7 separate regions of the Homo sapiens genome follow, and regions 2, 3, 4, 5, 6 and 7 are each linked to region 1. The links are contacts of gene promoters, found by promoter capture Hi-C in blood cells and fetal thymus (Javierre and others, 2016). All regions are on one chromosome and are shown on one strand. The core of a region is centred on a gene start or on the middle of the fragment in contact, and the rest is flanking DNA. Distances in the headings are between cores, read along the strand shown. Region 1 holds the start of LINC01530 (long intergenic non-protein coding RNA 1530). Region 2 overlaps SMG9 (SMG9 nonsense mediated mRNA decay factor). Region 3 holds the start of ZNF283 (zinc finger protein 283). Region 4 holds the start of ZNF230 (zinc finger protein 230). Region 5 holds the start of ZNF285 (zinc finger protein 285). Region 6 overlaps ZNF180 (zinc finger protein 180). Region 7 overlaps CEACAM20 (CEA cell adhesion molecule 20).

Region 1 (4,156 bases), core at 930-3,429:
CCCTCAGGACTCAACTGCGGTGATGTCAGGTACATCTGTCACAGCGGAGCAAAGTCCCCTTTGAAATACTTTCTCCCACAGCTTTTGATTTAGTCCTCCCTCTTTGTTCTTGTTTTTTGCCTCCTGCTTAATATCTTCTGGGGAGGCCTCTTCACAGTCCTCATATCCTGCCCATCACCCCTCTTCTCATTCTGTTTGTGGGTGACTCTGAATCGCAATGTCCACCAGCCTGGCCCTCCAAATGCCCCACGGAAGATCCCATCTAGGCCTCTCATATCTCAGTGCCCAACTGACCAGCTCTCACACCCCAAGGCAGAAACTTACCTAACCAAGCTCCCCGTCTCCCGGAAGCAACACCACCTTTCACCCAGCTTCTCTATGGAAGACAACTCAGCTTTTTCAACCTCTGAATCTGCAGTCACCTAGTACTGGGGTTCACTTCCTGAGGTCCTTATCAGATCCAGTTGCATCCCTGTTTTAGTTACCTACTCACCTCAGCCAGATGAACTTCCCATTGGTTTTTCAACCCCTTGCATCTTTGGCCAGGCTGATCTCATTGCGCAAGACACTTCCCTAAACACTGTGGTAGACCTAACTCTTACCTTCAAGTCTCAGCTCAAACTTTCATTCATTCATTTAACAAATACCCACTGAGTGCCGCCTATGTACCCAGCATGCTCTAGGTACTGGGACACAGCAGTGAGCAAGATAGGAAAGGTTGCAGCTGTCAGGGCACTGATGTTCTAATGGAGGAACCAGGCCATGGATAAGGAAGTAAATGACTAAGATGCTTTCCAAATACGAGGGAATTATCTTTGGTGGTATGACTGGGGGGGGGGGAACAGGGAGGGGGTTCTTTAGGGTGGCTGGAGGCCTTTGAGCTGAGGCCAACAAAATGAGTAGACAGATATTGGGTCAGGGTGGGAAGAATGCTCCAAATTGAGTTAATAGCAAATGCAAAGGACATGAAGGGCAGGGCCTGGCTGTGTTCAGCCCATTGGAAAGTGTGTTGTGACTGAGGACGACCAGAAAGGACCAGAAGCTTAGAGGTTGGCAGGATAAGGAGCTTGGATTTTATTCTGAGATGGGAACCACTGGATGATTTTAAGCTGGGGGGCAGGGTAGTGACTGGTGACAGGATCTGATTTATATTTCCACAGGCTTCCTGGCACTGTGCCTGAATAGAGGGTGGAGTGTGGCAAGGGAAGAAACAGAACAGTGAGGAGGCCCCTGCAGTGATGCAGGTGAGGAGTAACGGTAGCTCGGAGCAGAATGGAGACAGTGGAAGTGGAGAGAAGTGGTTAGATTCTGGGCCTCTTCTGGAGATAGAGACGATGAGACTCACACAAGATTTGGTTGCGGGAGGGAAGCGGATGAGAGAAACAGAACACTGGCGACCATTCCAAGATTTTGGCTTGAGCACTTGGATGGACAGTTAGTGGGGAGGAGGCAGAAAGATTGTGAGAGGAGCAGGTTTAGGACAGGGAATCTGGGATTTCGTTTGGATGTGGTAGATTTGAGGTCCTTTGCTCTGTAAGGTCTTTCCTGAACCCTGGGCTGGGTCTAGCACCTCCTCTGTGTTCCCACAGCCTCCTGAGCACCCCCTGGGCCAGCCCTGACCACTCTGTGTTGTAACCAGGACAGAGGAGGGTGCACTCGCACTGCACCCAGGTTGAAGGGCGAGAGTGAGAAGGTGTCAGGCTGGGCCGCAGAATCCAAAGCGGGTCAGCAGGTACAACAGCTGCTTAGAGCACTCCCACCCGGAGAGAGGGATTGAGAGATCACGGAAAAGGGTGCCATCTTTCCAGGGACGCCTACCAGAACGCGGGGGAGAGAAATACAGAGACCCTCAACTCCGCCACGTCATCGCGACAAAGGGCCAGGACCGGCCGGCCGCGGGATGGGCGCTCACCTGGGCAGAACTGGAGCTGGAAGGGCCAACCTCCAAAGAAACGAGGAGCGGGCGGAAGGACTACGACTCCCGGAAGGCTTTGGGCCCATCCGCCTACGACTCCCAGGTGCCCCTGCGTTGCGTCGTCCCGAAACACTTGCGGCTCTCGGACAAACTGGGCCTACAGTTCCCAGAGATCCTCGCGGCAGCGCTGCGCATTCTGCGCACGCCTCCCAGAGTGTACTAGGCCGGTCCGGCCCGCTTCCCGTCTGCGCCTGCGCAAGCACAATAGCCGTGCCAGAATTCTCTGCCAGCTGCTGTGCACTGCTGTCAGTGCAAAGATGGGATGGACTTTTTTTTCAGATTTTCTGCTGTTGTGGGAGTATGGCAAGAGTTTGAGGGGGCGGAGAAAGAGATTGGGAATGTGAAAAGGGAAGATAGCACCTGCGCTAAGCACATTCCTAGGATTGGGCCGCGTCTCGGGGATGCAGAGTGGGCTCTTCGGCGCGCCCTGCAGCCATGGGAGTGGACGCCTGCCCAGGCCGAAGGGCAAGGACTTGCGGGGTGGGGTCTCTGTGCATGCGCGGAGCTGAAAGGGAGCGTTTTGCAGATCTCCACGCGTGCGCAACTCTCGGGACGTGGACGCGGTGAACAGTTACGCACAATCGTCTTTCTGACACAAACACACCCTGCCAGGTGGAAGCCAGGATGGAGGGCAGGTGAGACCCGTAAGGCAAGATCCCAAAACCAAGGAACGGAGCACTCTCCCCGCTTGCTCCCCAGATCCAAGCCCTCCACTTCCTTCCAATGCCCCCCTTCCCGAAACTGCTCCCTCCTGTATATTCTGAGATCTTATCACTATTCCCGTGAGGCCCTTGATAAGGAGGATTGAGAGTGAAGGGTGATGGGAGACACGCCTTGGGCGTCTTCTGTCCACCTCAAGGATTGAACTTTGGTAACTGGAACTCATTCATTTGTTAATCTGTGTGCTAGGCCCTTTGACCCGCTGGCCAGATGCACCGGGACACAGGTGTATTCAGCCTGGTCCAGAGATAAGGATGATAAATCTTAATGTAAAGGTATCAGATGTTAAGGGCTGCAGGAGCCCAGAGGTTACAAGTGCTGCAAGCCAGAACATGGGGAAACAACAGCAATTAAGCCGTTAGCTTGTGCCTTGGAGGGGTGTTTGCCCTGCACCCCACTCACTACCTGAAGATAAATGGCTTCTCCAACGTGTAGTGGGGTTGGGATGATGAGGATGACATCACTGCCAGGTGGGAGGCAGGAGCTGCAGGTCCTGACATGATGAGGCAGGTATGGGCCGCCCTGGGCTGAGGGGGACATGGGCTACCCTGGACTGGAGGGCTGGGCTGTGGCATGGGGACCCTGTCAGAGACAGGTGTTTGGCCTCCATGCCTTCCTGTGTCTCTGGAAGGGTGAAACTAAGCGGGATGCTCCTCTCCCAGCCCCACCTGCTTTTCAGAGGCTACCATATGCTGGAGGGGGAAGATCCTGGCCACAAGCAGAGGCCCTGGAGGTGAATCAGTGTTGGAAGTGGGGTGGTTGGTTCTGGGTCCTCCCTGAGGCTCACATGGCTGCCCCTCCCCATCCTCCAGGCCTCGCCTTCTGTCCCGGATCCGCCAATCCTCCGATCCCTGGATCCTCTGATGATGGCATCAACTGTCTGGGCTACAGGTTGCTCTCCAAAGAGTGGCTGCCCCTCTACACCAACCTCACTGTGGACATAACTTCCAAGCCTCAGGAGACCCAGTGCAAAGCTGAGGGGTATCTTATCTGGAAGCCAGAAAGAGCCCCTGAGGCCAAGGTCACAGGGAAGCCCTCCCACTCACCCCACCTGGTTTCTTTTAAAAGTAGAGTTTATTTTATCTCCTTTCTGCCATCCCTAATTCCTTCCTTCCATCTGTCCATCCATCTTCTTTCCCCTCCCTCCCTTCCTCCCTTCTCCTTCTCCTCCTCCCCACACCTGCTTCTTTTCTCTTTCTTTCAACTATGTCCAGAAGGTCCTTCTTAACAAACACTAATTAGTACAGGGAAAGGTCTCTTTAAGTGAATGCATTTAAAATAGGGAGTCCACCTTTGTGGTAAATAGTGTGCACGAGGTGAGTCTGGATCAGGACTTCACACTTGATAACGGAATTCAATTTCTCAAAATACCTTTATTTCAGATTTAATGAAATTCCATGTTTGTTGAATCATTAAGAACGAGCATTTGTGTTGTACTCATGGTGGACAGCCACCATTCTA
Region 2 (4,156 bases), core at 1,134-3,633, 7.8 Mb after region 1:
GTCTCGAACTCCTGGGCTGAAGCAGTCCTCCTGTCTCGGCCTCCCAAAGTGTCGGGATTACAGGTGTGAGCCACCATACTCGGCCATTCAGTAAAACTTTCTGTTAAGGCCAGAGAATAATTATTTTAGGCCCTGCAGACTGTATTGTCTGTCTCAGCTCTGCCATTGCATCAAGAAGGCAGCCACAGACAGTTTCTAAATTGATGGATGTGGCCATGTTCCGATAAAACTTTCTATTTACAAAAACAGAAAGCAGACCAGATTTGGCCCCTAGGCCACACTTTGTCAACCTGACTTCTGAGCTTGAGCAGATAGCCCCACTGAGTTCTACAAACAGTTAAGTAGTCAAATACCACCCTAGACTGATGTGTGAACAGCTGGGAAAACTCTCTAAGGACCTGTAAACAGATACTGAAATGGTGGAGAGTGGGTTGCATAGGTAGCCAGACATTATATAACATCTCAAATAGAATAAACACTGGAGACACCTTGAAATGAAATTCACTGTGAGGGAAGGCAGACCGTCAGGAACGGAAGACAGACAGACACTGAAATGTAGTGGGATACCAGGTGAAAATAGGCCCTTGAGTGTTGGAACCTCACCATGACATACACTAGTAAGTGGCTGGAGCCCCACCATGACATACACTAGTAATGACTAATCAAGAGTAGCTGTTGGACTGAGGATCACATTGCTGGTTTGTAAGCAAATGCCTTGCTGCATTTTGGTAAGGAGAATATCCTATTTTTATGTGAACTTGCCCCTGTGAGTTTATTTATGTTGGAGCATTTTAATAGTTGGGAATAGTTTTGGCTGCAAGTAAGAGATAGATGTGTATTTGTTTTTCACTGCCTCTCGAAGTAGGCAATTCAAGGTTAACGTGGAACCCCCCAACCTTGTGTCTTGTTTTATTGTACCTTCCATTAAATTGCCTTACAGCCCAGGATAGCTGCTTGAGCTCCAACCTCCACACCCACATTCCTGTCACTGGGAGGAAGGGGCAGAAGGCATGTGCCAGAGTCTGTGAAGGGAAGTTTCTGGAAGCTGCCAAGCCACACTTCTAGTGTCATACCATAGCCAGAAAGTACTTACTCACATGGCCACACCTAACTGCAAACAAGGATGAGAAGTTTGTTCTGGATAGCCATGTACCTAGCTCAGAACTGAGGGTTTTACTTTTTTGGAAGAAGTCAGGAGTGGATGTTGGGAACCAGCTTGCAGTTGCTACCACAGGCCCAGAGCTCTGTTGAAAGGAAGGGCCTTGGCCGGGCATGGTGGCTCACGCCTATAATCCCAGCCCTTTGGGAGGCTGAGGCAGGTGGATTGCCTGAGGTCAGGAGTTTGAGACCAGCCTGGCCAACATGGTGAAACCCCATCTCTACTAAAAATACAAAAAAAATTAGTCGGGTGTGGTGGTGGGCATCTGTAATCCCAGCTTCTCAGGAGACTGAGGCAGGAGAATTGCTTGAATCTGTGAGGTGGAGGCTGCAGTGAGCCGAGATTACGCCATTGCACTCCAGCCTCGGTGACAAGAGCGAAACTCTGTCTCAAAAAAAAGAAGAAAGGAAGAGCCTTGGTTGGGCACAGTGGCTCACATCTGTAATCCCAGCACTTTGGGAGGCCAAGGTAGGTGCATCACCTGAGGTCAGGAGTTCGAGACCAGCCTGGCCAACATGGTGAAACCCCATCTCTACTAAAAATATAAAAATTAGCCAGGCATGGTGGTGGGTGCCTGTAATCCCAGCTACTTGGGAGGCTGAGGCAGAAGAATTGCTTGAACTCAGGAGGCAGAGGTTGCAGTGAGCCAAGATCAGGCCACTGTACTCCAGCCTGGGCGACAGAGAGACTCCATCTCCAAAAAAAAGAAAGAAGGGACTTCGTATAGTCTAGGATATGCCAAGTAGAGTAGGAAGAGACTCTGTCATCCTGAAATCCCCTCATTCCCTCCATAGGTAACCATGTCTGAGTCTGGACACAGTCAGCCTGGACTCTATGGGATAGAGCGGCGGCGACGGTGGAAGGAGCCTGGCTCTGGTGGCCCCCAGAATCTCTCTGGGCCTGGTGGTCGGGAGAGGGACTACATTGCACCATGGGAAAGAGAGAGAAGGGTGAGTGTCTGGACCCAGGAGCAGCATTCATGTATCTATTTGGTTCCACGCACCTGCCATGTGCCAGGCACTAATCCAGATGCCGGGGATATATTTGTAAACAAAACCTACCACCCTCATGGATAAAGAAGGTGGAGAGTGATAAAGGAGACTGTTCTAGATAACATGGTCAGAGAAGGTCTCTCTGAAGAGGTGACTTTTTAGCAGAGACTTGAAGGAGATGAGAGAATAAGCCATGCCAGCATCTGAGATGAAGAGCATTCCAGACAGAAAGAACAGCAAGCGCAGAGGCCCTGAGGTGGCCCATATCTGGCGTGTTCAAGGAGTAGCCATAGGAGGCCAGGATGGCTGCAATTGATGAGGAAGGAGGGAGAGAGATAGGAGATGAAGTCAAGTAACTGGGGCCAAATCATGTAGGACCTGGTAGGCCTTGGAAAGAACTTTGTATTTCACTGAGTGAAATTGGCATTGGAGAGTTTGAGCTGAGAGGTGCCATAGCTCATGTTTTAAAGGGTCATGTCATAATAACAACAACTGTTACTCTTTTTACTGAGCAGCCTATACTGTGCTTGCACTGTGCAAAGTCTTTTACATCCTTTGGGTCTTCCTGAACCCTTACAGCTACCCCATGAGGTAGATTCTATGATAGATCTGATTTTCACTAATGAGGAAAATGAGCCCCAGAGGTGAAGGGACTTTTCCAAAATCAGAGTCAATAAACTTTGGGTCCAGGACTCAGATCCAGGTCCAGCTTAGTCTCACATATAGCATCGCTCTGCCTGCTGTAGAGAGCGCCCTGGGCTGGGAATCAGGAGGGATCGGCTTGTGCCCAGGCCCAGCCTCGCTCCCCTCCTGTACCTAGGTGACTCACTGCCAGAACCTGCCCCCTGGGCTTTTTTCTCTAGGGCCCTGTCCACCTCAGAGATGTCAGGTAGGGTGGAAGTAGGTGACAACTGGGGCCAGCTTCTGAGCTATAAAACTGTACAAACATGAAGAATAGTTTTTTCACAGTGAGCTGGGCTCTTACTTGCTCCTTCTCTTGGGCCACAGTGTAAATGAGAACACGTAGTCTCTCTTCCTTCCACATAATGCCCTCCTGGGGAATGTTATCCCGCCACACCTTCAGGTTTAATCCTTGAACAAGCACCTCCTAAACCTCATCTTTGTCTCTAAATGTGCTACTGAGCCCTGGCAGCCTCTTGTCACACCCATGGGCTTCTTATCCTCTGTGTCCCGTGCTGACCTCGGCATCTTTCTGCCATTTTTCCTCTTCCCATTTTTTTCTCCCATATCAGTGACAGCCCATTGGGCCTTATCCTGAATGCCTCTCTCGCCTCTCCCCTGCTTCCTCTGTGCTAGTCAGGCACCAGTGCTTTACATTCTGCCGCCTGGTTATATCTGTGTGTCTTCTCTCTACCCTCACAGCGTTCATCCCAGGTATAGACTGAATATCCGAAGTGCTCCAAAATTCCAAATGTTTTGAGCACCAACGTGACATTTAAGGGAAATGTTTATTGGAGCCTTGCAAATGGATTTGGGGTGCTCAACCAGTAAATATGCAAATATTCCAAAGTTCAAAAAAATCCCAAATTCAGAACACTTCTGGTCCCAGGCATCTGAGATAAGAGATACTCAGCCTGTATCATCTCCCCCTTCCTAGCCTCCTGGAAGTCCACAGCCTCTCCTCCTGTAGTTTTTCCCTTGAAACTTCTTTTCGAAGCACTTTCACTTCGTCTTTTTGTTTGTTCTTCACCGTAAGCCAGTGAAGTGAGCAGGGTTTAAGTAAGTGTCCTCAGTATATTGGTGAAGGAACAGACACAGTTAGGGGTCAAGACTCTCATGAGGTTACTCAAGGAACCAGAGAAAGAACGGGACTCAGACTCAGATTTCTCCCCTCTTCAGCAGACTGAGGGTAAGTTGGGGAGGCATGAAGAGGTCAAGGCTTGGGATCAGCCTGCCAGCTTTGCCAGAGCAGGAGGGGGCTGAGGCAGAGGTGATCAGGATAGCAAGTGCCACCAGCAGCTCTCACATAGTGAGCACCTGCCAT
Region 3 (4,156 bases), core at 1,178-3,677, 7.8 Mb after region 1:
CCAGCCCCCACTTTTTTAGTTAATTTGCAAGCACCCGTCACAATCAACTTCATACTTCTGTTACTCTAATCTATAAAAAGTTTATGGGAAATAATCTAGAAGAGCCCAATAATAGCAACTCAATATTCAGTAAGCCCATATCATGGGGATGACACTGCTCTACGAAGCTTTACATATAATATCTCATCTTACATCATATCAACTCCATTAGGTAGGTACTATCCTGTCCCTATTTTATAGATGTGGCACAGAGGGCCTGAATCAATTGTCTAAGCACACACAGCTACCAACAGGCAGAGCCAGGATTTGAATTCAGATACTTTGGATCCAGAGCCTTAATTTTTTTGTTGTTGCTGTTTTTTCGAGATGGAGTCTCTCTCTGTCACCCAGGCTGGAGTGCAGTGGTGCAATCTTGGCTCACTGCAACCTCCACCGCCCGGGTTCACGCCATTCTCCTGCCTCAGCCTCCCGAGTAGCTGGGACTACAGGCGCCTACCACTACGCCCAGCTAATTTTTTGTATTTTTAGTGGAGACGGGGTTTCACCGTGTTAGCCAGGATGTTCTCGATCTCCTGACTTCATGATCCACCTCCCTCAGCCTCCCAAAGTGCTGGGATTACAGGCGTGAGCCACTGTGCCCGACCCCAGGGCCTTATTTTTAACTACAACATAGTACGGCTTCTTACATGCCACAGAAAGCTGGACTTCAAACAAGTCATGCTTGGAAATGTTACAGATTTCTATCTAAAGATTATCTGAAAGTCCCCACTCTTGTTGGTGCAAATTACAAATCCCTATGTTCAAAGCTCAATCATATTTCCACCCCTAAAAGCCTCACAAAGCAGACAACATTGTCATTTACTGCCAGAAACATTCCCTTACTTAAAATCCCTTATACCTTGCCTTTCTTTAAGCATCATGACTATGGGCCAGGCATGGTGGCTCACACCTGCAGTCCCAGCACTTTGGGACGCCAAGGCCAGAGGAACACCTGAGCCCAGGACTTCAAGGTTGCACTGAGCTATGACTATACTACTGCACTCAGCCTGGGCAACAGAGTGAGACCTTGTCTCTAAAAAAAGTTAAAAAAAAATTTTAATTATGACTACAGAAAAGATAAAAAATAATGTTTATATAACACCACCTAATTACTAATCTCTTCAAATAATCATAGTATAAAATAATGCTCTAATAGCAATCTACAAGAGGTGCCTTTCTATAACTCTTCAGTGCATCATAATGCACTGAAGTATTTGAACAATTTGCCATATGAACAGGTGGGTAAGAATTGTGGAGAAGAACAATAGGGGGCCACTGGGAGGAAATATGTACCAGCATGGCGGGTCATGTAACTGGGAAAACCCAGTCAAGATATTTCAGGCCAAGGAAAGAAAATGTTCTCATGACCTAGAAGCAAAGGTAATTGTATGTGTATGTATTTAAAAAGTATGTATAAAAAACCTCACCTGAACCTTGATTTCTAAACATGCAAAAATCCTTTTCTCCTCTTCAAACTCCTTCTTAGAAATCTGGCAACCTGGCAGCACTGGGGGAAAAAACAGTAACATGAGACATCAGCATTTCTAGCGCGTCACAGACTTAATTAAAAAAGAAAAAGAAGAGCAAAACACCCTCTGGGGCCACTTCTGCCTTCATCCACACAAAACCAAACGGAATGAAAAGGGAGGCTAGAGTCTGTCTCTGTGTTGAGGGCAATTCTTGGGGACAGAGGTCTGCTTGCAATGGCTCTGAAACATGTAGCTCACCACCAAAGAGCTCCTAGAGGCCCCTCTTCTAGGAATCCCACCTCTAGAACTTCCCCATCAGGTCTTGACAAGATCCTGTCCCGCGGACACTTCCAGATCTAAAATTCTCATCCTTCTTGCTTGAAACGTTCATTATGGGGCTTAGCATAGACTTCTTTCTTGCGGTCATTTAATTGTGGCAGGCCCGAAGACAGGCTAAAGGGAACCTAGAGCATTTGGTCAAAGCAAATCACATTTACAAATACGGCCACGCACCCTGTCAGCCCGTCACACATTCACAACTGCACCCACCTCCGTGGGGACACGCCCCGTCCCTGCCACGCCGTCTGAGACACACTGTCCCTCGGCTGCTCGCGTGCACACAGGCTTGAGGATCCGGACACGACACGCTCTGTCCGTGACCCAGCCCTCCCCACCTCCAGCACCCCCGATGCCACCCCCACCCTCACTGCCGGTTCCAGTCGGGCCCCAGTAAAGCCAGCCGAGCCCTCCCAGCTTCACCCGGGCTGATTACTTCTACAGACACGACCAACTCACCATGCAGAGTCCAAGAACCTTAAGGACACCGGAAAAGGACCCAGAGACCTGTGGTTAGTTTGGACCCAGAGGCTGATGGGAAACAAGAGCCTGGAAATGCTCGCAGGCTGGGAGAGGAGCTTCTGGCAGGCAAGCTCGCCCCGCCCCTAAAAGGCCTGTGCCCCGGAGACTTCTGGGAAATGTAGTCCACAGCGGCAGAGTCTCCGGAAGTTGAAACCTGGACAGCAGGGATGCTCCCAGCATGCAACTTGGCTTCACCTGTCAAAGGCGCTTTTTTCGAAGACGCCCGGGAGCTCTTGCTTTTGCTTGAGGGTCTTTGGTGTTGACTGAGAGCGAATTAAAAGGTTCTCAGCTTTCGCTAAGGAACGCATTCTGGAGTCTAGAACAGGCGAAGATGGGACTGGGGTGTCTGGGGACTTAGACGTGAGCGAGCAAGGGAATCCGGGGTAAGTTCGCTGGAAATGACCTGCGCGACACTACCAGTTTACCTGGGTATGAGCGCCTGGAACAGTGTCTGGCAATTGAACAGATGGGTGTGTCTTGCTGTGAGGGAGTTTCTTAGTTCGATTCGGTGTCTGGGACCCTGCGTGGACCTGTTTATGTTCATGGGATGTTTTCTAAATTTATGCCTGTGTGAGTCTGTTTTATTAGGTGTGAGATGAACTGTGTTACAGATTTTATATGCCGCTGTTGAAAGACAACAATAAGTGGTAGTGAGTGGATATTGTGACCGTGGAGACTTATGGCAGTGCAAAGGCGGCCATAAACAATGCACAAGCAATCCAGCATGGCTGTGTTCCAATAAAACTTGATGGATTATAAAATTTGAATCTCATTTTTTATAGAGTATGAAACCATTTATTCTGAAGCACACACTCATACTCCAAAAACAATACTATATATTCCCTCTCTCTCTCTCCTGTGTGTTTGCGTGTGTGTGTGTGTGGGTGTGTGAGAGAGAGAAAGGTTTTAAAGGAGACAACTAACTGATTCTGAGGTTAGGGCAAAAAGATTGGGGCTGTGGTTGGTGTGGTAAGAACCTTTGGATATAAATACTTTTTTAAAAAAGAATTGTCTAAAAATATTAAAGCGAAATTTTATATTAAAACTAACAGAAAGAAAAGGAAGTTACTTTTTAGGGGCTCTTTCTGGTCACTGATATCACCTCTCTCATCCTCTGCCATCTCTCACCTCCTGGTCTCTCTTGCTTATCAAGAGAAGACTAGAGCTCTTGGATCCCAGCTTTTCCCCTGCCTCAGCTGAGGCCACTACCCTGGTTGACTCCCATGGTGACATGGATGCCTCATCCAGTATCGTGGGTCTGAGTCCTCATCTGCAGGGTCCTTGAGCTTTCCTCGGCACCCATCCCCGTTTCCCATCTGGGACTTCATTATCATCAGCATCTGCTCCACCTCCAAAACCACTGGTGGAAGCAGCCTCCTCTCTTCCCATGTTACTTGCTCAATGACTCCCACAAGTACTACTCTGAATATTTTGGGGGTCTGATTTTTTTTTAATTTTTTATTTCCATAGGTTTTTGGGAAACAGGTGGTGTTTGGTTACATGAGTAACTTCTTCAGTGGTGATTTGTGAGATTTTGGTGCACCCATCACCTGAACAGTGTACATGGCACCCAATTTTTAGTCTTTTATCCCTCACCCCCTTTCCACCCTTTCCCCCAAGTCCCCAAAGTCCACTGTGTCATTCTTAGGCCTTTGCATCCTCACACCTTAGCTCCCACTTATGAGTGAGAATATACGATGTTTGATTTTCCATTCCTGAGTTGCTTCACTTAGAATAATAGTCTCCAGGCCGGGCATGGTGGTTCACACCTGTAATCCCAGCACTTTGGG
Region 4 (4,156 bases), core at 1,032-3,531, 7.6 Mb after region 1:
AGAAACTGTGGAATGTGACAACTAAAGACAATGCATAAACTGGACTTTGAATGGCATTGCAGGTGAAGGGTGGGGTAGGGGACACAGTCATAAGGACTTTATTTTTTTATTTTTTGAGACAGAGTCTCGCTCTGTCACCCATGCTGGAGTGCAGTGGCGCGATCTCAGCTCACTGCAACCTCCGCCTGCTGGGTTCAGGTGATTCTCTTGCCTTAGCCTCCCAAGTAGCAGGGATTACAGGAGCATGCCACCACACCCGGCTTTTAAAAATATTTTTAGTAGAGACAAGGTGTCACCATGTTGGCCAGGCTGGTCTCGAACTCCTGACCTCAGGAGATCCACCCGCCGTTGCCTCCCAAAATGCTGGGATTACAGGCATGAGCCACTGTGCCTGGCATAGGACTTTAAATGAAAAACTGAACAAATTTAAATATGTAACTACAGATTAGATAACAGGATGTTAGGTAATATGCTATTCAACACTATCTAATGAGTAACACTACAACTACTAGTAGTCTTTTAACAGATCTGATATGTAATAGATAACAATATTATTTAATATCTAATATTATCTAGCATGTTATGTGAAACCCTATACCATCCCTTCTTAAATACCTCTTACCAACACACCCCACATTTACCATGGTATGTGGGCTTCCTTGCTGCAGAAAGCCATAATCAGCTGTCTCTGGTTAGTTATGTTCCTGGTGGTATTTGGCTGATGGTCATCAACAAAGCAACCAGGAAAAATGTAAACAATTGGCAAATTTGGATAGAGTATGAGAACTCCTTATACTATTTTTGCAACTTTTCTATAGCTTTTAAATGATATAAAGATGAAAATATTTTATTTTGTTTTTAGTTTTTAATTTTTTTTTTTTTGAGACAGAGTCTCGCTCCCTAGCCCAGGCTGGAGTGCAGTGGCGCGATCTCGCTCACTGCAAGCTCCGCCTCCCGGGCTCACGCCTTTCTCCTGCCTCAGCCTCTGGAGTAGCTGGGACCACAACTGCCTGCCACCATGCCCAGCTAATTTTTTGTATTTTTTTTTTTAGTAGAGATGGGGTTTCACCATGTTGGCCAGGATGGTCTCGATCTCCTGACCTCGTGATCCACCCGCCTCGGCCTCCCAAAGTGCTGGGATTACAGGCGTGAGCCACCGCGCCCAGCAAAAATATTTTAGATATCAGGAAATAGTCATAAGGATAATGGGAATAATAAAATTGAGCATTATATAATATGGCAGTTCACTAGTTTATTCTTTTTTTTTTTTTTTTTTTTGAGTCTCACTCTGTTGCCCAGGCTGGAGTGCAGTGGCGTGATCTTGGCTCACTGCAACCTCCACCTCCCGGGTTTAAGCAATTCTCCTGCCTCAGCCTCTAGAGTAGCTGGGACTACAGGCACGTGCCATCACGCCCGGCTAATATTTGTATTTTTGGTAGAGATGGGGTTTCACCATGTTGGCCAGGCTGGTCTCAAACTACTGACCTCAAGTGATCCACCTGCCTTGGCCTCCCAAAGTGCTGGGATTATAGGCATGAGCCACCACAACCAGCCTCACTAGTTTAGTCTCTATTAGCAATATTTAAAATTTTCTATAGTTAAAAGACATATGGGAAAACACATTAAAATATAACAATTTTTAAAAAAATGTTTATCAACAAATATAGAAGTAGACACAAAGAAAGACAAAAGAAATCAATTAGAAGCTTAACAGTTACTACCTTTACATCTTGGATACATGGGTAATTAAAAAACTTTTTCTACTCTCATTTCTCCTATTTCAGACTTTTCCACAATGATACAGTTCCACAACAGTACGAAATACTTGGAAAACATGAAACAAAATAGTTGAGAAATTTTTAAAAATTCCTAGACGTCCAAGCCCACGAGCCTTGCTCTCAACGTCCTTTCAATCAGGTCCTAACTTGCTTTCCCTACGAGTCCAGCTAGTTCCTCTGCCTCAATGAGAATGTATCCAAGAGGTGATCAACTCAGGCTCTGACCTGGACTGCCTAGGTGCCAACCCCAGCTCTACCTCTCACTAGTTGGCTGCTATGCACCCTGTGTCTCACTCTCATTTTTAAAACAAAGAAAAGCAATACTTCACAGAGCCACAGTGTGGCCTAAATTTATTTGTATAAAGCACTTAGAATGAAGTTACCAATTACGGCTTAATGATTATCAACACCCATTCCCGAGGACACACTCTCGGTTGGGTGAACATCTCTATAAAGGAAAAAAGCCAAGGACCAATCACATAGAGATTTGCCCTCAGTAGCCAAGAAGTCCCCTCCCTGCAGCTCTTTTAGAAAGGTCAGGCTGGGGAAGGCGAAAGTTGTGAAATACCCTGACTGCATCGCGGTCCCCCATAAAAGTTAAATGCTCCCCGCCCTTCGTGGAAGCGGACGCAACTCGCTTTCCTAAAAAGAGGTCAGAAGGCCTCCCGGGATCATCCAGCGTCCTGCAGGGATTAGGGAGAAGGACCAGGGCCCCTGCAGCTGAAGCTATGACTCCACCCGGGGACCTGACCTCTTCGGGAAGTTAACAAGAGACCACCAGTCACCAAGTGACAGGGACTGCTTTAAGGTTCTCATTTGCGTTATCTCTTTCAGTTCCCAAAAACGATTCTACTAGGATGGTTCTAATGTCCCCATTACCAAAAACAGCAATGGAAAGTATAAGGACATTGAGTAACACTCCACGTCACACTGCGAGAAAGCGGTCGCACAGGTAGGGTGGAGAGAGGCAGGCTGAGCGAGGTCAAAGTCCTGGAAACGCTCACAGCAGGGCACAGAGGACCCCGCCAATTCCAACCCCCGGGATGCGAGCACAGCACCCCCATCCCAGAAAGCTTCCGTGGACGGGAAAAAAACCCCATTCCCCGCCCCCACCAAACCTCCGCTCTCCGCCAAGGCTTCTTTTCCCTTGCTTGGATCATCGATCATCGGGTCGTTGCGACCCCAAGCGAAGGTGACAAGTTCAGAAGGACCCGCCAGACGCAGAAATGGCTCAAACTACGCGGTTATGTAGCAACCGCAGGCTCACACACCGGAAGTGCTCGCGTCTCCACAGAGCGTCTGGACTCCACTTCCCAGAATTCCCCGGTTCAACTGCTTGAGCCAAAGGGTCCGCCATTCCATGAAGTTGATGGACTACAGTTCCCAGAATTCACTCGTCCACCCGCCTGAGCCAACTTGCCCGCGACTCAGAGTGTGTCTGGACTCCGCTTCCTCCAATGCCAAAGGAAAATGTCTATAATCTCACTCTTCAGCGGGAAGCGTTGGACTCCGCGGTGGTCCTTGACTACACACACCGCAGTGCCCACCGGGAACGTATTCCATATCTCTGAGCGCCTGGTGGGGAATGTGGACTGTGACCCTGTGAGTCGTCCGTCTCTCTTCCTGAGTCTTTGAGCGAAAATAGTGTATAGACAGGAATTCCTGAAGTCTAAACGCCTCCCACGATGACAGGAGTGTTATTGGGAAGAGAACAAACGAGGAGATAAAATCTTCAAGGATTAGGATAATCTGACGATGGGAGGTTAAAACTAACGGTTTAAAGGATGAGCCAGGTGGAATGGTTTGGCAGGGGCAATGAGGAGCAGGAAGACACCAGCCCCTACTCCAGAAGCTGTGGGACCACTGGTTTGGCAGGAAAAGCCACCCCCATTTAAGATCACAGCTACTAGTGGAGAAGCGGTGTCGTCATGGAATAGCTATCTTCCCATAAACTTTTCATGGTATTCATATTTCTCCTTAGATGTAGAAACATCAAATTTCAGCGAATGTAGTGAATTGCTCAGTACCTCAGAGCAATAATGACTGATGAAGAGCTAGGCATTGGTATCAATCTTACATTGAGATTGTAAATGCAGTAAAACGGGAGGATTCTATAGGTGAAGGAGCATGTCTTATAAAGAGTTTTCTTCCTGGCCAAGCGCAGTGGCTCAAACCTGTAATGCCAACCCTTTGGGAGGCCAGGGCAGGACGTTCCCTTGAGCTCAGGAATTGGAGACCAGACAGGGAAATACAGGGAGACTTCGTCTCTATAAAAATTTTTTTTTAACTGGCCAGGCATGGTGGCCTGATCTTGGGACTACAAGTTCCAAGTACTCAGGAGGCTGAGGTGGGAGGATTGCTGAAGCCCAGGAGTTTGA
Region 5 (4,156 bases), core at 1,186-3,685, 7.2 Mb after region 1:
ACCTGAAGTATTTGCTTTCTTTCTGTTCTTTTCATTGATTTTTCTTTGGTCATCTGACGAAGGCAATCTTTGCTTCTGATGGTTCAATGCACACAAACATTGTATACAAACCTTGTGAACAAAATTATTCAAAATAATTCTATAAAATTAATTTCAGGCTACATGTATAAGGTTTATATGGAACACAAATGAATTTTGCATTTAGACTTGGGTCTCATCCTCAAGATATCTCATTACGTATATGCAAATATTGCAAAATCTGAAAAAAATAAAATATCTGAAACACTTCTGGTCCCAAGTATTTCAGATAAGGAATACAACACTTCCATACCTAACAACACAACTTTTAAAAAGTAAAGCCATTTGTATACCTAGTAACTTGACTTTTGAAAAATGAAGCAGGCTGGGCATGGTGGCTCACGCCTGTAATCCCAGCACTTTGGGAGGCCGAGGTGGGCAGATCACAAGGTCAGGAGATGGAGACCATCCTGGCTAACACGGTGAAACCCTGTCTCTACTAAAAATACAAAAAAATTAGCTGGGCCTGGTGGCGGGCACCTGTAGTCCCAGCTACTCGGGAGGCTGAAGCAGGAGAATGGTGTGAACCTGGGAGGCAGAGCTTGCAGTGAGTTGAGATGGCGCCACTGCACTCCAGCCTGGGCAACAGAGCGAGACTCAGTCTCAAAAAAAAAATAAAGGAAATAAATAAATAAATAAATAAATAAATAAATAAAGCAAATGCTATAGAGAGGAAAATGACAAATTTACCATTATAGGCTTTTTTTTCTTTCACTTTTTTCTTTTTTCTTTTTTTTTGGTGACAGAGTCTTGCTCTGTCGCCCAGGCTGGAGTGCAGTGGCATGATCTCGGCTCATTGCAACCTCCACCTCCTGGGTTCAAGTGATTCTCTTGCCTCAGCCTCCCAAGTAGCTGGGACTACACGTGCTTGCCACCATGCCTGGCTAAGTTTTGTATTTTTAGTAGCGATGGGGTTTCACCACCTTGGCCAGGCTGGTCTTGAACTCCTCACCGCGTGATCTGCCCACCTCGGCCTCCCAAAGTACTGAGATTACAGGCTTGAGCCACCACGCCCAGACTGGGAACCTTTTTGACATGCACTTTTCAATCGTTGACAGATGCATAATGAAAAAATCTAAGTAAGCACAAATAAGCATGTAGGAAATTTAAATAGCACAGTTAGCAAGTCTGGGGAAAATATAAATGTATGCATATCCATCTGATAGAGAAGACACATTGTTTTCCAACAGACACAGATGTCACAAAAATTAACCTTGTATTAGGTCAAAAATAAAAATGTTCCTGAACTCGTTTTTTAAAATTCAAGTATGTCAAATTAAATCAAGTAATCCTTCAACTTAGAGCAATATATAAGAACATCAAACATGTAAACATCAAAAGACAGAGATAAGCCAAAACAATTGCACTGTCCCTTTATGTGCCCTAAGCTGCGATGTCAAGCTATAGTTGGATATTATTCAACCATTTCCTGCCCATTGCGTAGAGGTGGGGGTCTTCACTTCTCTATCTAGTCTAGGACTGGAACCGCCTCACCACCCCTACAGCTTGAGGGTGCGTGGAAAAGGGAATGCCAGCCAGATATTCCAAACAGAGACTCTGCCAGCAGGACCAGGTGACCTTTCCTAGGAGACAGATTGTTCTCACACGTTATCAGGGCTTTCCTCCAGGCTAAAACTGTGGGCCTCTAATGGAATTCCTATTCAATTTTCTTACCCCATTTAGGGTACCCAAATTTTTCTTTAATAGAAATCTTAAATCTTAAATGCAATAACATGAAGTAAAATAAAGCCTAAGTCTCAACAAGGGCAAATTTTCAAAAAGAATCTGAAAACTTCCCGCGTTTTCTTGTTATGTTGTAATGTGTCTCTTTTAGGACACTCTCAGTACTCCTGCAATTCCCCTGTTAAGGATTCAGACAATAGTTGTTAATTCCTTCTGCTTCTTCTGAGACTAGGAAATAAATTACAGGGCTATGTTATATCGCAAGTGTAGATTATCCAGAGTTTTCATCAACAGAAATAAAACATGGTGGGGGGCGGGGAGGGAATTATTTAAGTGAGTGTTAATTGAAAAGTTTCGTGGTTTTAACGTTAAAAGACATGCCTATAAAATAAGAACTTATAAAAGTCTTCACTAAAACGGTAAAGTGCCCATTTCCAAGTAGTAAAATATTGAAACTTCTTTTCATCGTTGATAGTGATTTATTTAACATTTCATTATTTTATCGTTATTATGATTGTCGTTATTTTAGACGAATGCACGGAAGTCAAAGGACTTCCAAATGCACGGAAGTCAAAGGCCACCTTCACCAGGGTAGCCTTGCGAATGGCCACTGCTGCGCGCGGGGCTTTCTGGGGATTGTAGGCCATAGGCCTCCTTGCGCATGCGCCATGGTACTGGACGCACGCTGCGGGCGACATTGTTTGGGACGCTGGGGTGAGTCCCGTCTGTACCGCGCCCCTCTTGGAGGCGTAGCCAGGAGTAGGAGTGTAGGATGTGCAGCTGTGACCCGTCCCTGTGGACTGAAGTAGGAGGAGTGGAAGAGGGGACTGGTAACCAATGATAAGGCCTCGTAGGTGGGGTAGACTAGGGAAGTTCAGCGGCCCGACCTACCCGGGATAGGATGGGAAGAGCGTGGGCTCGAGCGTGGGCTCGGTTTGGGGAGCAGCCCTGGGTTTGACAAAACAGTGCATCTTCACGTTTCGTGACAGCGACTTGCGCTGTGCCTCCTCGGGTCGAAGCTTAGGGTCAGTCTTGGGATGTGCATCTCTGGATGAGGGCAGAGGGGCGCTGGCTCAGGGTTTTGGAGTAATGGCTGGACTGTGCGTCCCTGAATGGGATGAGGGATTTGCTTAAGCAGCTAGTCTCTGGATATAGAGGATGGCTTCGGCTGTTCTCGCTCAGTTTGGTGGGGGCGATTCTGGCTCAGCACCCCTAGGTTCTTGGATGGGGAGTTGTCTTGGGTCTGAACTCTGGATTTTGGCAGCTCTGACTCCATTGGGGCATTTATGACTTCAAGGCAGAGGTTCTGGCTTTTGGCAATAAAGAAACAACTCAGACTGTAATACTGTAATAACTCCAGAGTTTAATGTCACCGAATACATTTTGAAAAGAACTGTCCCAGGCCTGGCGCGGTGCCTCACGCCTGTAATCCCAGCACTTTGGGAGGCCAAAGTGGGCGGATCACGAGGTCAGGAGATCGAGACCATCCTGGCTAACACGGTGAAACCCCGTCTCTACTACAAAAAACAATTACAAAAAATTAGCCGGGCACGGTGGCAGGCGCCTGTAGTCCCAGCTACTCGGGAGGCTGAGGCAGGAGAATGGCGTGAACCCGGGAGGCGGAGCTTGCAGTGAGCTGAGATCACGCCACTGCACTCCAGCCTGGGCGACAGAGCCAGACTCTGTCTCAAAGAAAAAAGAAAAGAAAAGAACTGCCCCAAATTATTAACTCCATTCTCACCTCACATGCTGTGAGCCAGGGAGTAGGGACTTTGAGTATTATAAAGCACATTAGCAAATATAAGTTGTTAAATTACACTCAACAAATTTGAAGTTTGAACACTCTCTGTATATTTGATAAAGTTAGAGATTTAGTGTTAATTATTTTAGGTGTAATAGCAGCATTTATTACATTTCTGATCGTGTTTCTGGGCAATTGCAGTTCCAGATTCAGCTGCACTTTTCCTCTAGGTCTTCATTCCCTGAAGAAGTTGATATGGGCATCTGGTCTCATTCCTGATGCATTCCTCAGATCAGAGTAGTTGTCAGGGTGAGGGATGAGAAAGGCATTTGTGTGCGAGAGCTGTGTGGACTTTGGCAGATAGGGAAAAAACAAGAGTCTTGAGGTGCCATGTGTCCCATGCCTTTGGCTCCCCACCTTTTCCACCCTGCTGTCTGCCCTGAAAGGCCGCCATTGCCTTCTGGCCTTGCTTGTCTTTGGCCAATGGGAAGTCTCAACAGGAAAGTTTGGAGAGAGGAAGAAGTGTGAGTTGGAGTATCTTGTCCCCCAGTTCTCTCTCTGCAGGATTGTCACAGATTAGCTGCCCTTCTAAACAACAGGTCATAGTTTGGGTGGCCCTGGCCACACAGTCCTCTTAGTTCCAGGCTCCAGGGA
Region 6 (4,156 bases), core at 1,093-3,592, 7.1 Mb after region 1:
CCAAAATTTTGCAGCTTAAAATAGCCAATGTTTATTTCGTCACACAATTTCTGAGGGTCAGGAATCCAGGTCAGCTTAACTGGTTGTTTCTGGTGCTCAGGGTCCCTGATGAGGTTGCAGGCAAGTTGTTGTCTGGGCTGCTGACTTCTGAAGGCTTGACTAGGTGGGAGGATATTGTTGCAAACTCACTCAGATGGCTGTTGGCAAGAGGTGCTGTACACCAGAGAGGCCTCTTTCCAGGGCGTTCACAGCATAGCAGTGGATTTCTGCCAGAGCAGGTGATCCCAGTGAGAGAGAGAGAGAGAGCAAGAGCACTTAGTTGCACACAATCAAGATGAAGCCACAATGTCTTTTATCATCTGATTTCAGAAGTGACACACCATCACTTCTTCCATATTCTGTTGGTCACACAGACCCACCTTGGTACCATTGGTCAAGGACTACACAAAGGCATGAATACTAGGTAGTAAGGGTCTTTGGGAGCCATCTCAGAGTCTGGCTACCACACTTCTCAACTCTGAATGTCCTCTAGTTAATTTTAATTATTATCAGAAGATGAACAAGTACTTGATTTGGACCTGAAGGATATTAGAACCCTGGAAGGGAGAGAAAAATCAAGGGAGCCAAAGTCTTTGCTTTGAACGAAGGCCACGAGTCCAGTGAGCTGATCTAGGAAGAAACCATCTGGGTATTGGGGCATCACCTTAGAGATTTTAGTGGCTCATACACAGGAAGTAGCAGCTGGTCCAGCGAAGGCCTTGAGCCAACTCTGAGCCCTACCTGCCTTCAGGGACTGAGACCAAAACTGCTGCCAAGTAGGTGGTAGAATCTCACCCATCCACTGTCATTCTCAACATTCGAAGTTGTGCAGGTTGTTGGTGGCCCTATGTGGATGGTCTATTCTGTGTATTTCAGGACAGTGAGAATTATTCATGGATGATAAGGTGGGGCAGGAGAGGGAATTTTCTTGTGCGTGAGGACTAAAGGGATCCTCTTGTCAGGATGATTTCTGAGAAAATCAGGGAAGGGAACCTTCTTTCCAGTGCTGTAGTTTGTGAATATTGGTTTTACGCCTTCTAGATTTGGTGATTAAGAAACCTCAGGGCCTCCCACATGGGCCCTGTGGACGCCATATCCCTTGAGCTGAAATGTGAGCTCCACCTTCCAGCTCCCAGGGCAGGAAGAGATGGAAACACACCAAGAAGTCTGCCTGTGTGACGCCTGTGTTTTCTAAATGTTCTCACAGATATAGAGGGTTTCCTGCCAGTAGACCCCCAAAGCAAAGCTCTGAGAATTGAGTCCAGTAATATTTCTGTGATTTGATTAGAAACTTCATTTTATTGCCCCAAGAATACCTCAGATTGGGAAAGGAATATTTGGTCATCTCTATTTATAGGTGAGCAAATAGCCCTAGCCCTAGGTCTGATTTGACCACTGTCTTACTATGAAGCGGACAGGTCACTCCATGATAGCTCTGCTTGTCTCTTTCCCCCTGCTTTGGTTCCCATGGGGTCCCACATACATTACAGAAGGAACAATTATTATCTCCTGCCCACAACCCTTTTCTCTGTGCAAGTCAACAGTCTAATTCCTGTTCCCATTTCGTAAAGTCTGCAAAGAAAAAGGGAAATGCTCCTTTATGACCTAGAGAGGTGACTGTTGAACAAGAGGGTAATTTAAAGATGCTCCAGAGCATACAGAAAGTAGAGTAAAAGTTTTTAATTCTATTCCTATGTCCCAAACTCTGCACGTGTCTCTAGTCTTGTCAAATGCAGAGAACTTTTATTGTGCTCCTACTCAATACTGAGGAGAATACAAAGATAAAAAATACACAGTGCTTTCTAATATAGAACCCAGGACCCAGGGGAGAGGTATATAGAAATGGTAGTAATATGAAGAGAATAATTTTACTGGTATAGTAAAGGGCCACCAAAGCTAAGAAGTCCTGAGAGAAGAAGAGATGAAGCTTTCTGCTATCTGGGAACGCTTCATGGAGGAGGTGGCATTTGATCTGGGCCTTGGGTGATTAGACAGACTTTGGTAAGACAGTGGGAAGCAGAAGAGTTTGTGTCAGGCAATCAGTGGACTTAAATGAGCTTACTAAACCTTATTACCATTAATTTCTGCATTGGTGAAATAGAATAGACATATTACTCTTTTCTTCAAAAAAAAGTTTAGGCCAGGTAAAGTGGCTCACACCTGTAATCCCAGCACTTTGGGGGACCAGCATGGGAGGATCACTTGAGGCCAGGAGTTCAAGACCAGCCTGAGCAACATAGTGAAACTCCCACCTCTACAAAAAATAAAAACAAAAAAATTAGCCAGCTGTGGTGGCGTGCCTCTGTAGTCCCAGCTTCTTGGGAGGCTGAGACAGTAGGATAGCTTGAGCCCAGGAGTTCAAGACTATAGTAGGCTATGATGGTGCCACTGCACTCCAGCTTAGGCAACAAAATGAGACCCTAGCTCTTAAAAAAAAAGTTTAGATGATTTTGTGAGATGGAAATTCTGTGTTGAAGTACTCTATGTATTACTAAAAATACTAGGCAAATGATAGATTACATTGACATTATCTGAAGGAAACTGAGGGAGCTAAGATGTAAATTCAGGAGATATTCCTAAAATGGTCAGTAATCCAAAGTGAGTAGAACCTGGGGAAAAATTCAGGGTGTGTGGGTGTGCATGCATGCACGGGCTCACATGCATTTGTTGCAAGCTTGTTTCTGAGCATTTAGTTTGTAAGAGTAAGTTGGGAGCAGGTTCTGGATACTGACACTTTGAATTTTCTGCAAAGAAAAGGCACCCAACAAAGGTTTCCTCTAACCAAGGGAGGGGCTTGAGCTCAGCTTTGCTTTAGTGCCTCCAGGGACCCCAGGGACAAATGCAAAGTTACAGGTAGCACATTCCATGTCCCTTCTCCTAGTGGCTGTTTATAGTCAGCATACATTTATGAAGAGCCTGCTATGTGTCAGTAGTGATCTAAGCATGGTGGAGTCACGGTAAACAGGACAGACAAGATCTCAGCTCTTATGAAACTCACTCTAGTGGAAGAGTTAAATAAAAAGCCAAAGGTAGAAGAATATATGTGATGTGAAGATATGAAAGCAGGGTAAAGTGATAGAGTTGACTGCTGGGGTCAGGGCAAGGAAGGACATTTCATCCAGAGTCTACCTTGAGGAAAGATGAGCTTTCTTTTGTTTTCTTGTGAAAACTTTTAAACAAAAAGGTGCTAAAAACAGTTTGCATTCAAGAGGAGGTGCAACCATATTCTGCAAGTATAATAGTTTTAGCAGTTATGGCAGATAGTGACATTTTGGAATTTTGTTTCTGCCAAGTACCTGCTGAGAAAAACATTAAGTTGTCCAATTCTTGGTATTATTTCTTAACTGATATTAGCTTTTTTTTTTTAATTAACAGAGTGTGATATTATCTGAAGGAGTTTGTAATAACTTAAAATACAGGTTAGCATTTACAAATTTTCCTTTCTTGAGTAACTTTTCTCATTTCCCAGGCATTTTTTTAAGAAAAGATGTATTTGTCACGGGTGTATATCAGGAATGTAATTTTTCTTTCAGGCCAGATAAGATTGAATCCATTAACAGTTTGGGGTCAAAACTTGTGGCTCCCTTGTACCATCTGTAGTTTGGTTGTGGCTATTTTTTGGCATTGTGAGTTTTATTTTTGTTTTCTGGCATTTTGGGCTATTTTGTAATGTTCATGCAGCAATTTCAAGGCAGTTTAGGCCAGTTGTGGTGACTCACGCCTGTAATCCCACTTTGGGAGGCTGAGGCAAGAGGACTGCTTAAGAACAGTAGTTTTTTTTGTATTGTCTTTTCTCTTTGTTTTCTCTTTTTCCTTCCATCCTCCCTCCCTCCCTCCCTCCCTCCCTCCCTTCTCCTATTTCCTTTTTCCCTTTCTTTCCCTTCCCTTCCCTTCCCTCTTTCTTTCCCTTCCTTTCGCTCTTTCCCTTCCCTTCCCTCTTTCTTTCCCTTCCTTTCCCTCTTTCCCTTCCCTTCCCTCTTTCTTTCCTGTCTTTTTCTTTCTTTTCTTTTCTTTCTTTCTTGCTTTTTCTTTCTTTCTTTCTTTCTTTTCTTTCTTTCTTTTCCCTCTTTCTTTCCTGTCTTTCTCTCTCTCTTTCTTTCTTTTTCTTTTCTCTCTT
Region 7 (4,156 bases), core at 1,657-4,156, 7.1 Mb after region 1:
TTGTAGCTGTGTTCTTAACTCAGTGGCTCGATTCCACCCTTTTGAGAGAGGTTCAGGCAGAAGTGAGATGGGCAATCGGCAGGCCAATATTGATGAAAACAATTGCCATTTATTAATCACCTAGTATGTGCCAGGTGTTAACATTCATGATTTCATCTCATCTTTGCAAACATCCTGTGCTATTTACAGATGAAGAAATGAGACTCAGAAATGAATTCACTTGTCCAGGGTCACATGGCCGCAGTGAGTCAAGGGGCTCTAAGTGAAAGCCGGGTTTCTGGTTGCCAAAGCTCTTTTCTCTGGTCTGTGCCTCTATTCTGGGAGGAAAGAAACACAAAGCCATATTTGATCCATTATCCTAACTGACATTGTCATCATGGCCAACATTTACTGATCACTTTCCATGGTTCCAAACAAACACTATATATATAGAAAATGAATACATGTATGTTTAATCTTTCTAGAAGCCCTATAAACCCTATTGTTCCCATTTTACAAAAGAGACAACTGAAGCCTAGAGAGGTTAAGTAGCATGCCCAAAGTCACACTGCTGAAATTTGGACGCAGAAACTGGATGTTTTAGTTTAGAAATGATGCTGTTAATACCACAGACTGAGGTCAGGTGCAGTGGCTTACACCTATAATCCCAGCACTTTGGGAGGCTGAGGTGGGCGGATCACTTGAGGTCAGGAGGTCCAGACCAGCCTGGCCAACATGGTGAAACACCCCCTCTCTACCAAAGAATACAAAAAATCAGCCTGCATGGTGGCAGGTACTTGTAGTCCCAGCTACTAGGGGAGGCTGAGGTGGGAGGATCACTTGAACCTGGAGGTTGCAGTGAGCTGAGGTCACGCCACTCCACTCCAGTCTGGGTGACAGAGCAAGACCCTGTCTGAAAAAAAAAAAAAAAAAAGCAAAACCAAAAACCACAATCTGATACCTCCCAACGACTGGAAAACAAGTGCTCACAAAATGTCAGTAGAGAAAAAGCTGCAAGCTTGGGAACGGGCTGGGAGCAGGGATGAGGGTGTGTCAAGCCTGGGTCTTGATTCTGTCTCCTTGCCCAGGTCCCCAGTCCTCCTCCCTGTCCTCAGGGGCCATCGCTGGTATTGTCATCGGGATCCTGGCTGTCATTGCTGTGGCCTCAGAACTGGGCTATTTTCTCTGCATCAGAAATGCCAGACGGTAACACAGGGATACAGGGAGGGGGATGGGGATGGGGATGTGGCCAGCAGGGGGCGCTTGCCGGGCGTGTTGCTGACCATGGTGCTGAGTCTTGTCTGGCACCTGGGGAATTCAGAGGGTTGTGGGCATTGTTCAAGAATGGACATGGGATATGGGCAGAACCTGTGGAGATGGGCAAGGACTAGAGGCACAGAATAATGAGGGCTTTGGGGTTTCAGGCCCTCAAGGAAAACAACAGAGGACCCCAGTCATGAGACCTCACAACCCATCCCGAAGGAGGAGCACCCCACAGAGCCCAGTTCCGGTAAGTGACTCTATGGTGGCTGATGCCTGGGGCAGGGGTGAGGGCTGGGGAAGAGGCTGGTGCTGGGGGCTCCCAGCTTTGCCACCAGGTCACTGTATGATCAGGGCAAGCCCTGTCCACTCTGAGCCTCTGTGTTCCCATCTGGAATTTGGATGAGATTGGAGTCAAGCCCTCTGATGGGTTCTGCCTGTTCCAACAGTCCCGGCAAAAGCAGGACAACAGGCTGGAATTCTCTCCTTTCTCAATCTCAGAAGACTTTTTTAACTGATTGTTGTAGACAGAATGAATCAACCACAACACTCCTTCCTGCTGAATCCAAATCCAGCCTCATAACATATCTCAGTAGAGTGCCTCGAGTGCCCTCTACTGATGGGTTAGAGTTAACCAAAGACAAAATGAAACGTATTTGCCATCTCTGGGTCTGGGATTCTGGAAGGATAGGCCTTTTGATATGGAAGGCTTTCTAGAAACTGTCCAATCCAGCCCCATTTTATAGAGACGAAAACCAAGGCCATTAGGGATAAAGGGCTAAATCCAGGCTACAGAGGACCCAGTGTCAAAACTGGGCTAGAATTTAGATTTCTCCCCTCATCTGTGTCACCAAACAGCCTTACCTAACCCAGACCTTGATTGCCAGGACATTCCTGGTCAAGCTCACTGGAAATATGACAGGGAGTCCTGGGAAGGATTTCTGCACTTCCTTCCTGGGGTCAGGGGTCCTGGAAAAACAGCCCCTTGCCCCATATCTCTTTCGAACTCCAGCTCCTGACTGAGATTCACTTTTTCTAGAAAGCCTGAGTCCTGAGTATCGCAATATATCCCAGCTTCAGGGACGGATCAGAGTCGAACTGGTGAGTGATGCTGCAGAGGGAACCCTCCTTGATCCCCTGACCAGGCTGCTATAGTCTTACTTCTTAGGGTGGGGGCTGGCATGATCTTTTGAGAAAACCCAGTGCCAGGTTAAGTCTCTCTGCATCTCCTCCTCTGACTTCTCTGAGGATCTCAAGACCCTCCCGGGTTTTTTCATCTCTTCTCCTCGTCTTCTTATTCTTTGACATGACAATTCCTAGCTTTGAGCCCTCTGGGAATCAGAAGTGCTATAATTGCCTCTGAGGCCAAAGCTATTTCTGAGCATCTCTTGGGGTAGCCCCTATTCCAAGCCCTATGACCTCTCTGCAACTTTGTTTTTCCCCAGATGCAACCACCAGACCTTCCAGAGGAGACCTATGAGGTACATTGGCCCTGCTGGGTTTGGTTAAAGAATCTATGAAGGAAAGACAATCTGAAAATTTTATATGTGATAAGCCTGAGAGATCATCTTGTCTAAACATTTCATGGCACATCACAGGGCCAGGGATGGGAAGAGAGTAGCCTAAGGCCTCACAGAGAGCTGGGTCAGATGCCATGACCCTGGATCCTCTTTCGTTCCTTCCACCTCCAGGGCTTGGAATTGGATTGCCAATGAGGTGGTACTGGACCAGCACATGCTGGGGTGAAAAGGAGGCTGGGAGTAGAGGTTGCAGATCCAGCAGGAAAAAGGAGAGTTCTGGGCCAGGGCAAGGGCCTGGGTTCTAACCCTGCTTCCACCTCTGATTCTCTGCAAGAACCTGAACAGATTCCTTCCACTCTCTCGGTCCCTGAAGAGTGTAAGTTGGTACATTCCTGGCAATCTGTGTCTGTGGGCCCTGCCTAATTTCTCTGCTTACTTGCAGACGAAGCTGCCTTCAGCAAGCCGTAGAGGCAATTCTTTCAGCCCCTGGAAGCCACCACCCAAACCTCTGATGCCCCCACTCAGATTGGTCTCCACTGTGCCAAAAAACATGGAGTCAATCTATGAGGTATGTTTATGCCACACTGAGTCTTTGGACAGGTGGAAATCTGTCACCAATCTGCTTTTTCTTCCCTACTAAAGAGTCTGTAGGATGAACTATGAAGAAAAATTTCCCTTTAAAAATCTTCTCAATTCCATCCTATCCATTTCCATCATGTCATTTTCTAGTTGGTTTTACTTCATTCCTTTCCAACGCACTCCATTTTATTGCATTCCATGTTTCACTCCACCCAATTCCTTTCTATCCATTTAGCTTTATTCATTTTCTGTATTTCTATATCACTTCACTCTGCCATTTTCTTTCCATCCCATTGGGTTTTATTTCCTTCCACTCTATTTCCCCCCATCCCAGCTCTTCCCATTCACTCTACTGTATTCCATGCCTTTTATTTTCTTTCTTCTCTTTCTTTCTTCCTTCCTTCCTTTTTCTTTCTTTCTTTCTTTCTTTCTTTCTTTCTTTCTTTCTTTCTTTCTTTCTTTCTTTCTTTCCTTCCTTCCTTCCTTTCATCTTTCTTTTTTTTTTTGAGACAGGGTCTTGCTCCATCACCCAGACTGGAGTGCAGTGACTCAATCTCTGATGACTGCAACCTCTGCCTCCCAGGTTCAAGGGATTCTCCCACTTCAGCTTCCCGAGTAGCTAGGACTGCAGGCACGAGCCATCACACCCAGCTAATTTTTGTATTTTTTGGTAGAGACGGGATTTCACCATGTTGGCCAGGCTGGTCTTGAATTCCTGACCTCAATTGATCTGCCCGCCTTGGCCTCCCAAAGTGCTGAGATTACAGGAATGAGCCACCCTGCCTGGCTCATTCCATGCCTTTTCATTCCATTCCACT

Evidence for each region. The method cuts DNA at HindIII sites, captures the fragments that hold promoters and counts their contacts. A CHiCAGO score of 5 or more calls a contact.
Region 2: a fragment that was not itself captured here is called in contact with the fragment with the promoter of LINC01530 in region 1 in 1 of 17 cell types (fetal thymus); the score reaches 5.9 in fetal thymus.
Region 3: a contact is called between the fragment with the promoter of ZNF283 here and the fragment with the promoter of LINC01530 in region 1, in 5 of 17 cell types (non-activated CD4 T cells, total CD4 T cells, total CD8 T cells and 2 more). The highest score is 13.4, in non-activated CD4 T cells.
Region 4: a fragment that was not itself captured here is called in contact with the fragment with the promoter of LINC01530 in region 1 in 4 of 17 cell types (total CD4 T cells, non-activated CD4 T cells, total CD8 T cells and 1 more); the score reaches 11.8 in total CD4 T cells.
Region 5: a contact is called between the fragment with the promoter of ZNF285 here and the fragment with the promoter of LINC01530 in region 1, in 1 of 17 cell types (naive CD4 T cells). The highest score is 5.4, in naive CD4 T cells.
Region 6: a contact is called between a fragment that was not itself captured here and the fragment with the promoter of LINC01530 in region 1, in 1 of 17 cell types (activated CD4 T cells). The highest score is 10.2, in activated CD4 T cells.
Region 7: a contact is called between a fragment that was not itself captured here and the fragment with the promoter of LINC01530 in region 1, in 1 of 17 cell types (total CD4 T cells). The highest score is 11.5, in total CD4 T cells.

The regions. Positions count from the first base shown.
Region 1 is chr19:51,592,403-51,596,558 of GRCh38, reverse strand. It overlaps LINC01530 (long intergenic non-protein coding RNA 1530), which reads left to right and starts at 2,179. Exons shown (of 2, transcript NR_034159.1): 1 at 2,179-2,610; 2 at 3,508-4,156. ZNF175 (zinc finger protein 175) reads right to left here. Exons shown (of 5, transcript NM_007147.4): 5 at 4,049-4,156. RefSeq lists a silencer at 1,262-1,429 and enhancers at 1,512-1,561, 1,772-2,081, 1,828-2,463, 2,464-3,099, 3,100-3,735. The HindIII fragment of the contact is 8,842 bases long and covers 1,045-4,156 here.
Region 2 is chr19:43,748,545-43,752,700 of GRCh38, reverse strand. It overlaps SMG9 (SMG9 nonsense mediated mRNA decay factor), which reads left to right. Exons shown (of 14, transcript NM_019108.4): 2 at 1,954-2,109. The coding sequence starts at 1,960. Among named protein-coding and RNA genes, the nearest start is that of SMG9, 4.3 kb to the left of the region's middle. The HindIII fragment of the contact is 8,040 bases long and covers 1-4,156 here.
Region 3 is chr19:43,825,592-43,829,747 of GRCh38, reverse strand. It overlaps ZNF283 (zinc finger protein 283), which reads right to left and starts at 2,427. Exons shown (of 7, transcript NM_181845.2): 1 at 2,304-2,427; 2 at 1,467-1,546. RefSeq lists an enhancer at 2,370-2,569. The HindIII fragment of the contact is 6,325 bases long and covers 170-4,156 here.
Region 4 is chr19:44,001,848-44,006,003 of GRCh38, reverse strand. It overlaps ZNF230 (zinc finger protein 230), which reads right to left and starts at 3,047. Exons shown (of 5, transcript NM_006300.4): 1 at 2,897-3,047. It overlaps ZNF230-DT (ZNF230 divergent transcript), which reads left to right and starts at 3,134. Exons shown (of 3, transcript NR_110727.1): 1 at 3,134-3,739. RefSeq lists an enhancer at 2,775-3,284. The HindIII fragment of the contact is 1,145 bases long and covers 1,709-2,853 here.
Region 5 is chr19:44,399,887-44,404,042 of GRCh38, reverse strand. ZNF285 (zinc finger protein 285) reads left to right here and starts at 2,435. Exons shown (of 4, transcript NM_152354.6): 1 at 2,435-2,475. RefSeq lists an enhancer at 2,282-3,038. The HindIII fragment of the contact is 3,728 bases long and covers 1-2,782 here.
Region 6 is chr19:44,489,899-44,494,054 of GRCh38, reverse strand. The region is part of intron 2 of ZNF180 (zinc finger protein 180); the gene reads left to right. Among named protein-coding and RNA genes, the nearest start is that of ZNF180, 8.5 kb to the left of the region's middle. The HindIII fragment of the contact is 747 bases long and covers 1,969-2,715 here.
Region 7 is chr19:44,510,201-44,514,356 of GRCh38, reverse strand. It overlaps CEACAM20 (CEA cell adhesion molecule 20), which reads left to right. Exons shown (of 12, transcript NM_001102597.3): 7 at 1,068-1,185; 8 at 1,404-1,489; 9 at 2,279-2,340; 10 at 2,685-2,720; 11 at 3,202-3,327. Among named protein-coding and RNA genes, the nearest start is that of ZNF180, 12 kb to the right of the region's middle. The HindIII fragment of the contact is 3,813 bases long and covers 1,000-4,156 here.